Regions from separate parts of the Homo sapiens genome. Here region 2 is linked to region 1. The links are contacts of gene promoters, found by promoter capture Hi-C in blood cells and fetal thymus (Javierre and others, 2016). All regions are on one chromosome and are shown on one strand. Each heading gives the region's core, a stretch centred on a gene start or on the middle of the fragment in contact. The rest is flanking DNA. Distances are from core to core; before and after follow the strand shown. Region 1 holds the start of NDUFB7 (NADH:ubiquinone oxidoreductase subunit B7). Region 2 has its middle 3.7 kb from the start of ADGRE2.

Region 1 (3,815 bases), core at 389-2,888:
CTGACCTCGTGATCTGCCCGCCTCGGCCTCCCAAAGTGCTGGGATTATGGGTGTGAGACACCATGCCCGGCCTCAATTTTTATATTTTTAGTAGAGATGGTGTTTCACCATGTTGGCCAGGCTGGTCTCAAACTCCTGACCCCAGGTGATCTGCCCGCCTTAGCCTCCCAAAGTGCTGGGATTACAGGCATGAGCCACCACGACCGGCCACCCTTCACGTCTTTGTTTCCAGCCACTGCCTCTTGGAAGCCTGCTTTGACACCCCCAGCTCTGCCTGATTCCACAATCTTTCCCACTGTGCTGAGTTCTCTGGAGACAGTGCCTGCATCCCTCCAGTTCCCTGCTGTATCCGCGGTGCCTAATGTGGGACGTGGCCCAGAGCTGGTGCTCGGTATGCCTGTGATATTACTACATTAAAAGCAAAAACAAACACACGAACCAAAAAACCATCCTGGGCGTAGTGGCTCACATCTTCAATCCCAGCACTTTGGGAGGCTGGGCAGAAGGATCGTTTGAGCCCAGGAGTTTGAGACCAGCCTGGGCAACACAGCAAGACCCCCAACTCTACAAAAAATAAAAAATCAGTCTGGCATCCTGGGGCGCTCCTGTAGTCCCAGCTACTCGGGAGGCTGAGGCGGGAGGATCATTTGAGCCCAGGAGGTCGAGGATGCAATGAGCTGTGATTGTGCCACTACACTCAGCCTGGGCAACAGAGCAAGATCCCGTCTCAAAGCAAAACAAAGCACTTTGCAGGACAGTATTTGCAGCTCGAATCTTCCTTATTTCCTTGTGCATACCCCACAATTGCAGTGACATCAGGAAGGGGGTACAATGAACGTGTCCCTGCCCTCCCATGACTCCCCACGTCCCCCAAGACTTGGCCCGAGGCCGGGCGTGGTGACTGACTTCTGCGATCCCAGCACTTGGGGAGGCCGAGGCGGGCGGATCACTTGAGGTCAGGAGTTCAAGAGCAGCCTGGCCAACAAGGAGAAACCCCGTCTCTACTAACAATACAAAAAAGTAGCTGGGCATGGTGGTACACATCTGTAATCACAGCTACTCGCGAGGCTGAGGCAGGAGAATCGCTTGAACCCGGGAGGTGGAGGCTGCCAGTGAATCGAGACCAAGCCACTGCACTCCAGCCTGAAAGAAAAAGCGAGACTCCGTCTCAAAAGAAAAAAAAAAAAGACTCGACCCAGCTCTGCGCGTCGCATTCCTGCCCGAACCCCCACTTGTCGCCTCACTTTTGCTCCCTGGCTTTTGCTCAAGCCGTGCCCTTGGGCTGGAACGCCTCCACACTGAGGTGGGGTCATGCACGTCCTGTGGACTCCTAGTCTAGACCCAAACCCAGATACAACACCTGAGGTTAGAGCCCAGCCCTGGGGTGCCAGCCCTGGGGTGCCAGGTGTTCAGGCACCCGCGCCCCACGCCCTCTGGCTGCGCCTGCGCACTGGGCCTCACCGCGCTCCTTGCGTTCGGGGAAGCCGTAGTCTGGCGGGAAGGTTGGCATCTGCAGGGGGTCGGGCTCCACCGAGGCATCGCCCAGGTAGCGCCGGACCAGGTGGGCCCCCATGGCTGCAGTCGCTGCAGATCCCTGCAGCAGCCGAGGGTCACCTAGCTCCTACCCGGAACCACTGACCCCTCAGTCAGACACAGCTTCCGGGTCATTTAGGCAGCTGCGGAGATCATAGAGATGAAGGACTCCAGAGGATCGCTCCGGTCCGCCTGGCGTCACCTCGCGGACAGGCGGAGGCGGGACAGGTGCTGTGTCTCTTCGCAGGATATGGTTGGACCCGAGAGGGGACTTCCCTGAGCCTGGAAATCCATCTGGGCGGGGCAGAAGGGGACGGTGTGGGACTGAGGCCTCCCTCGACCCTATCTGGGGCTCTTCTGGTAGCCCGAGGCTAAAGCACATATTAAAATTATTTTTCATATCATTTTCCAAAAAGTTTTTTCTTTGAAAACATTCAAATTTCTCTTAAAAAAGGCACGATATCTATTATATCGTTAATGTATGTAATTTTGCATAAAGTCACTTTAAGAATTTTTTGTTTTTGGAGACACAGTACCTGTCGCCCAGACTGGAGTGTATTGGCGCGATCTCGGCTCACTGCAGCCTCCACCTCCTGGGCTCAAATTCTCTTGCCTCAGCCTCCTGAGTAGCTGGGATTACAGGCGCCCGCCACCACCCCCAGCTAATTTTTGTATTTTTAGTAGAGACGGGGTTTCGCCAGTTGGCCAGGCTGGTCTCGAACCCCTGACCTCAAGTGATTCCCCCGCCTCAGCCTCCCAAATTGCTGGGATTACGGGCATGAGCCACAGTGCCTGTCCAAGAAAGATTTTGATAAATTTAATTTAAATAAAAGTTATTCATAAATACAGTTATTATTATATTATTATTTTTTGAGATAGGGTCTCATTCTGTCGCCCAGGCTGGAGCACAGTGGCACAATCATAGCTCACTGCAACCTTGAACTCTTGGGCTCCAGGGATCCTCCCGCCTCAGCCTCTCAAAGTGTTGGGATTATGGGCGTAAGCCACTGTGCCTGGTCAAAAACAATTATTTAAAGCTGAAATTTCAAATAAATTATATATATATATGCAATCTTTATACAATTTTAAAATATATTAATATCTAATATTAATATCTAATATATATTTTTCCCCAGTCTGACAAAGCATGTATTAGGCATCTACTGTATGGTATGCTGGGTCCAGTGGTCAGACAGAAAGGCAGACGTGGTTCCTGTCTTTCAAGCTTACAGTCTAATGGAACAGAAAAACAGTCTAATGGAAAAAAAAAAATATGGGCCAGGGCAGTGGCTCACACCTGTAATCTCAGAGCTTTGGGAAGCTGAGATGGGAGGATCGCCTGAACTCAGGAGTTTGAGACCAGCCTGGGCAATATAGGGAGACTCTATCTCTACAAAAAAAAAAAAAAAAAAAAAAGCTGGGTGTGGTGGTGCACGCTTGTAGTCCCAGCTACTCGGGAGGCTGAGGCAGGAGGATAACTTGAGCCCAGGAGTTCCAGGCTGCAGTGAGCCGTGATCCCATCACTGCACTCCAGCCTAGGCAACAGAGTGAGACCCTGTCTATAAAAATTCCCAGGTGATGTGATGTTGCTGGTCTAGTGACCAGCTTTGGGAGAATTACTCAACTAGATCTTTATGTGTTGACATGGGGAAGTGGCTGCTGATATATTAAGTGAAAAAAGCAAGCTATTGAGAATAGACAACTGGCAATAGAGACTTTTCTTTTTCTTTCTTTTTTTTTTTTTTTTTTGAGACAGAGTTTCACTCTTGTTGCCCAGGCTGGAGTGCAGTGGTGTGATCTCGGCTCACCGCAACCTCCGCCTTCTGGTTTCAAGCGATTCTCCTGCCTTAGCCTCCTAAGTAGCTGGGATTACAGGTGGGTGCCATCACGGCCAGCTAATTTTTTTTTTTTTTTTTTTGAGACGGAGTCTTGCTCCGTTGCCCAGGCTGGAGTGCAGTGGCGCAATCTCGGCTCACTGCAAGCTCCGCCTCCCGGGTTCACGCCATTCTCCTGCCTCAGCCTGCCGAGTAGCTGGGACTACAAGCGCCCGCCACCACGCCCGGCTACTTTTTTTGTATTTTTAGTAGAGACGGGGTTTCACCGTGTTAGCCAGGATAGTCTTGATCTCCTGACCTTGTGATCCGCCCGCCTTGGCCTCCCAAATAATTTTTTTGTATTTTTAGTAGAGACGGAGTTTCATCATGTTGGCTAGGCTGGTCTTGAACTCCTGACCTCAGGTGATCCACCCGCTTCGGCCTCCCAAAGTGCAGGGATTACAGGCT
Region 2 (3,815 bases), core at 930-3,429, 210 kb after region 1:
ATTATTATTATTTATTATTACTTTTTTCTGAGACGAAGTCTTGCTCTGTCACCCAAGCCGGAGTGCAGTGGTGCTATCTCGTCTCACTGCAATCTCTGCCTCCCGGGTTCAAGCAATTCTCCTGCCTCAGCCTCCCGAGTAGCTGGGATTATAGGCACCTGCCATCGCATCTAGATAATTTTTGTATTTTTAGTGGAGACAGGGTTTCACCATGTTGGCCAGGCTGGTCTCGAACTCCTGTCCTCAAATGATCCACGCGCCTCAGCCTCCCAAAGCGTTGGGATTACAGGCGTGAGTCACCATTCCTGGCGGCTTTCTTGAGTCTCTCCAATACTTCTCACCATCTCCCTTCTTCCCTAGCAACCATCTGCCCTCGAGCCGCATTAGGCTGTCAGCCCCCTGAGTGACTTTTGTCTTTTTCTCTGCAGAGCACCAGCACAGAGCCTGTGCTGAGTGGGGCCCTATATGGTAAACCATGCAAATTAGTAGTACTCCTGCCACTCCACTCCGCTGCCGCCCAGCTAAAGGAAGCCTCCTTCAGCCTCGCTGATCTGGTCCCTGCCGGGGTGTCTGCCTATGTTTCTCCGCCTTCTCTTTGTCCAGAAGTCTCAGTCCTGCTGACCTATTTTGCAGCTTCTGGACAACCTCTGCAATGATGGGGGGTGCGAACATGGTCCTCATTTGTCAAAAGGGGAACTGGAACCTGGGGGTTTGGGGCCCCTGGCCCCAGGTTGCTCAGCTAAGAAGTAACCCAAGATTACCTGTAATCCCAGCTGCTTGGGAGGCTGAAGCAGGAGAATTGCTTGAGCCCAGGAGATGTAGGTTGCAGTGAGCTGAGATCGCGTTATTGCACTCCAGCCTGGGCGATAGAGCCAGACTCCGTTTCAAAAAAAAAAAAAAAAAAAAAAGAAGCAACCCAAGATTATCCAACCAACAATAATAATGGTATTATTAATTATATTAGTATAATTTATTGTTATTATTTTAGAGACAGGGTCTCTGTTGCCCACGCTGGAGCACAGTGGCGGTGGCACAATTATGGCTTCAGGCAACCTGCACGTCCTGGGCTTATGTGATCCTCCTGCCTCAGCCTACCAAGTAGCTGGGACTACAGGCATATGTTGCCATGCCTGGCTAACTTTTCACTTTTTTTGTGTGTGTGTGAGGGGGACGGAATCTTGCCCTGTTACCCAGGCTAGAGTGCAGTGGCGAGATCTCGGCTCACTGCAACCTCCGCCTCCCAGCTTCAAGCAATTCTCCTGCCTCAGCCTCCCTAGAAGCTGGGATTACAGGCACACACCACCACGCCCAGCTAATTTTTTAGTAGAGACGGGGTTTCACCATGTTGGCCAGGCTGGTCTCGATCTCCTGACCCTCAAGTGATCCGCCCACCTCAGCCTCCCAAAATGCTGGGGTTACAGGTGCATGCCACCATGCCTAGCCACACTCCTTTTTTAAATTTAAAAACTGAGTGAAGTCAGGAGAAAAAAATCTTAAATTGCAGCATGACAGATTCCATACTAGAATCTTGAAAAAGTCTCCAAAGCCCCATAGGAAAAAGCCACCTTGCAAAAAAGCTGAGATACAAAGATAATAAAAGATTTGGTTTCAGGATACAAACATATGCAAGAAGACTTTAAAAAATAATCAAGGCTGCCGGGCGCGGTGGCTCATGCCTGTAATCCCAGAGAGGCCGAGGTGGGCAGATCACCTGAGGTCAGGAGTTCAAGACCAGCCTGGCCAACATGGTGAAACCCCGTCTGTACTAAAAGTACAAAAATTAGCCGGGTATGGTGGTGGGTGCCTGTAATCCCAGCTACTTGGGAGGCTGAAGCAAGAGAATCACTTGAACCCGGGAGGCAGAGGCTGCAGTGAGCTGAGATTGCGCCACTGCACTCCAGCCTGGGAGACAAGAGTGAGACTCCGTCTAAATAAAATAAAATAAAATAAAAATACATAAATATAAATAAATAAATAAAAATAAACAAGGCTGGGCCGGGCGCAGTGGTTCATGCTCGTAATCCCAGCTACTTGGGGATGCTGAGACGGGAGGATTGCTTGAGCCCAGGAGTTCGAGACCATCCTGGGCAACATAATGAGACCTCCATCTCTACAATAAAAATAAAAAATTCGCCAGGTGTGGTGACTCGCACCTGTGGTCCCAGCTACTCAGGAGGCTGAAGTGGGAGGATGGCTTGAGCCCAGGAATTCGAGGTGGCAGTGAGCTGTGATCATACCACTGCACTCCAGCCTGGGTGACAGAGCAAGACCCTGTCTCAAAAATAAATAAAATAAAAAAATAAGTAACTGAGCAAAGGAATAAGGTGCAAAGAATATTCAGAGTGGTGGTAATCAGCAAGATAAAGATGGGAGCATGGGAACAAGGTCATGTCTCAGTTCTTGGTGATGAGGGAGGCTCATGGGTATGCCTTCCTTCCCTTTTATTTTTTAATTTACATATTTTTTGCAAAGCAAAGTTCTTTATTCCCGCAAATTGTGAACAATACACATAGTAGTTTCCACATATGAATGTTTCCTAAAATGATGGCTGTTTTGTTTTGTTTTCTTGAGACAGAGTCTCTTGCTCTGTCGCCCAGGCAGGAGTGCAGTGGCACAATCTCGGCTCACTGCAACCTCCGCCCCCCGCGTTCAAGCCATTCTCCTGCCTCAGCCTCCCAAGTGGCTGGGATTACAGGTGCACACCACCACGCCAGGCTAATTTTTTTGTATTTTTAGTAGAGACGGGCATGAGTCACTGCGCCCAGCCAAAATGATGGTTGTTTAACGTAACGCCATGTAATGCAGGCATGTGGTGTTTTGCGGTTATATTCACATGTGATTTTATCAGGGACCAAAGCAAAAACAAAGAGAATTCTGAAAAGAGTTTGTATCAAGGAAGATAAAATCGGCCAGGCAGAGTGGCTCATGCCTGTGATCTCAGCACTTTTGGAGGCCGAGGCGGGAGGATCCCTTGAGCCCAGGGGATCGAGACCAGCCTGGGCAACATGGTAAAACTCCATCTCTACCAAAAAATGCAAAAATTAGCCAGGAGTGATGGCATGTGCCTGGAATCCCAGCTACTCACGGGGCTGAGGTGGGAGGATCTCTTGAGCCCAGGAGTTCAAGGTTGCAGTGAGCTCTCGCCACTGTACTCCAGCCTGGGCCACAGAGTGAGACTCTGTCTCAGAAAATAAGTAAGTAAAATAAAGCTGATCATGGATAGACCGATGGTCCCAAGAATTACATTGTTTCATGAATTATATAAACCTGAGGCTCTATACAAATATTTAAAAAAGAATTTTAAAATGTGTAAAGGTTTTAAGGAGAAGCGATTAGAGGAAGCAAAGGAGAGAGTAGGGTGGGGGAGGGGAACAGCTCAGGGGTGGCTGTGGGGGTGGGGAACTGGTGGCAGCCAACAAGAAGCCCTGAGCTGGGAACGCTGTGTGACATTTGGTGGCATTTTTATCACCTTCTTGCAGCTCTCAGTGTCTTCCCCATTTTGCAAAATCTTCTGAGCAGGGTGGTGCCGATGTCCCGATAAGGATGGGGTCAGGCTTCTGGGGGGCACTGTGAGGATGGGGGTCTCAGAATCCTTCCCTTGACTTTCGATGGGTGGGGAAGGCCAGGGGAGGAAGGGGGCTTATTCAGGCTGGGTGCCCACCCGGGTCAACCCCTCCGCATGCCTCTGGGCCTCTTCTGTTGTGGGCTTGTGGGTTCCCGAGAATTAGGGCCATGGATGGCACTGACGGTCCCAGCCAGTACCAGAAAGAAACGATGGGAAAGCATTGATGAGAATCAACCCATCCCCAGGGCTC

What was found. Contacts are between HindIII fragments. The CHiCAGO score rates a contact against its expected background, and 5 or more counts as called.
Region 2: a contact is called between a fragment that was not itself captured here and the fragment with the promoter of NDUFB7 in region 1, in 2 of 17 cell types (monocytes and megakaryocytes). The highest score is 7.2, in monocytes.

The regions. Positions count from the first base shown.
Region 1 is chr19:14,570,428-14,574,242 of GRCh38, forward strand. NDUFB7 (NADH:ubiquinone oxidoreductase subunit B7) reads right to left here and starts at 1,639. Exons shown (of 3, transcript NM_004146.6): 1 at 1,462-1,639. The coding sequence starts at 1,573. RefSeq lists an enhancer at 1,571-1,860. The HindIII fragment of the contact is 3,352 bases long and covers 1-2,756 here.
Region 2 is chr19:14,780,341-14,784,155 of GRCh38, forward strand. No RefSeq gene overlaps it. Among named protein-coding and RNA genes, the nearest start is that of ADGRE2, 3.7 kb to the left of the region's middle. The HindIII fragment of the contact is 8,011 bases long and covers 1-3,815 here.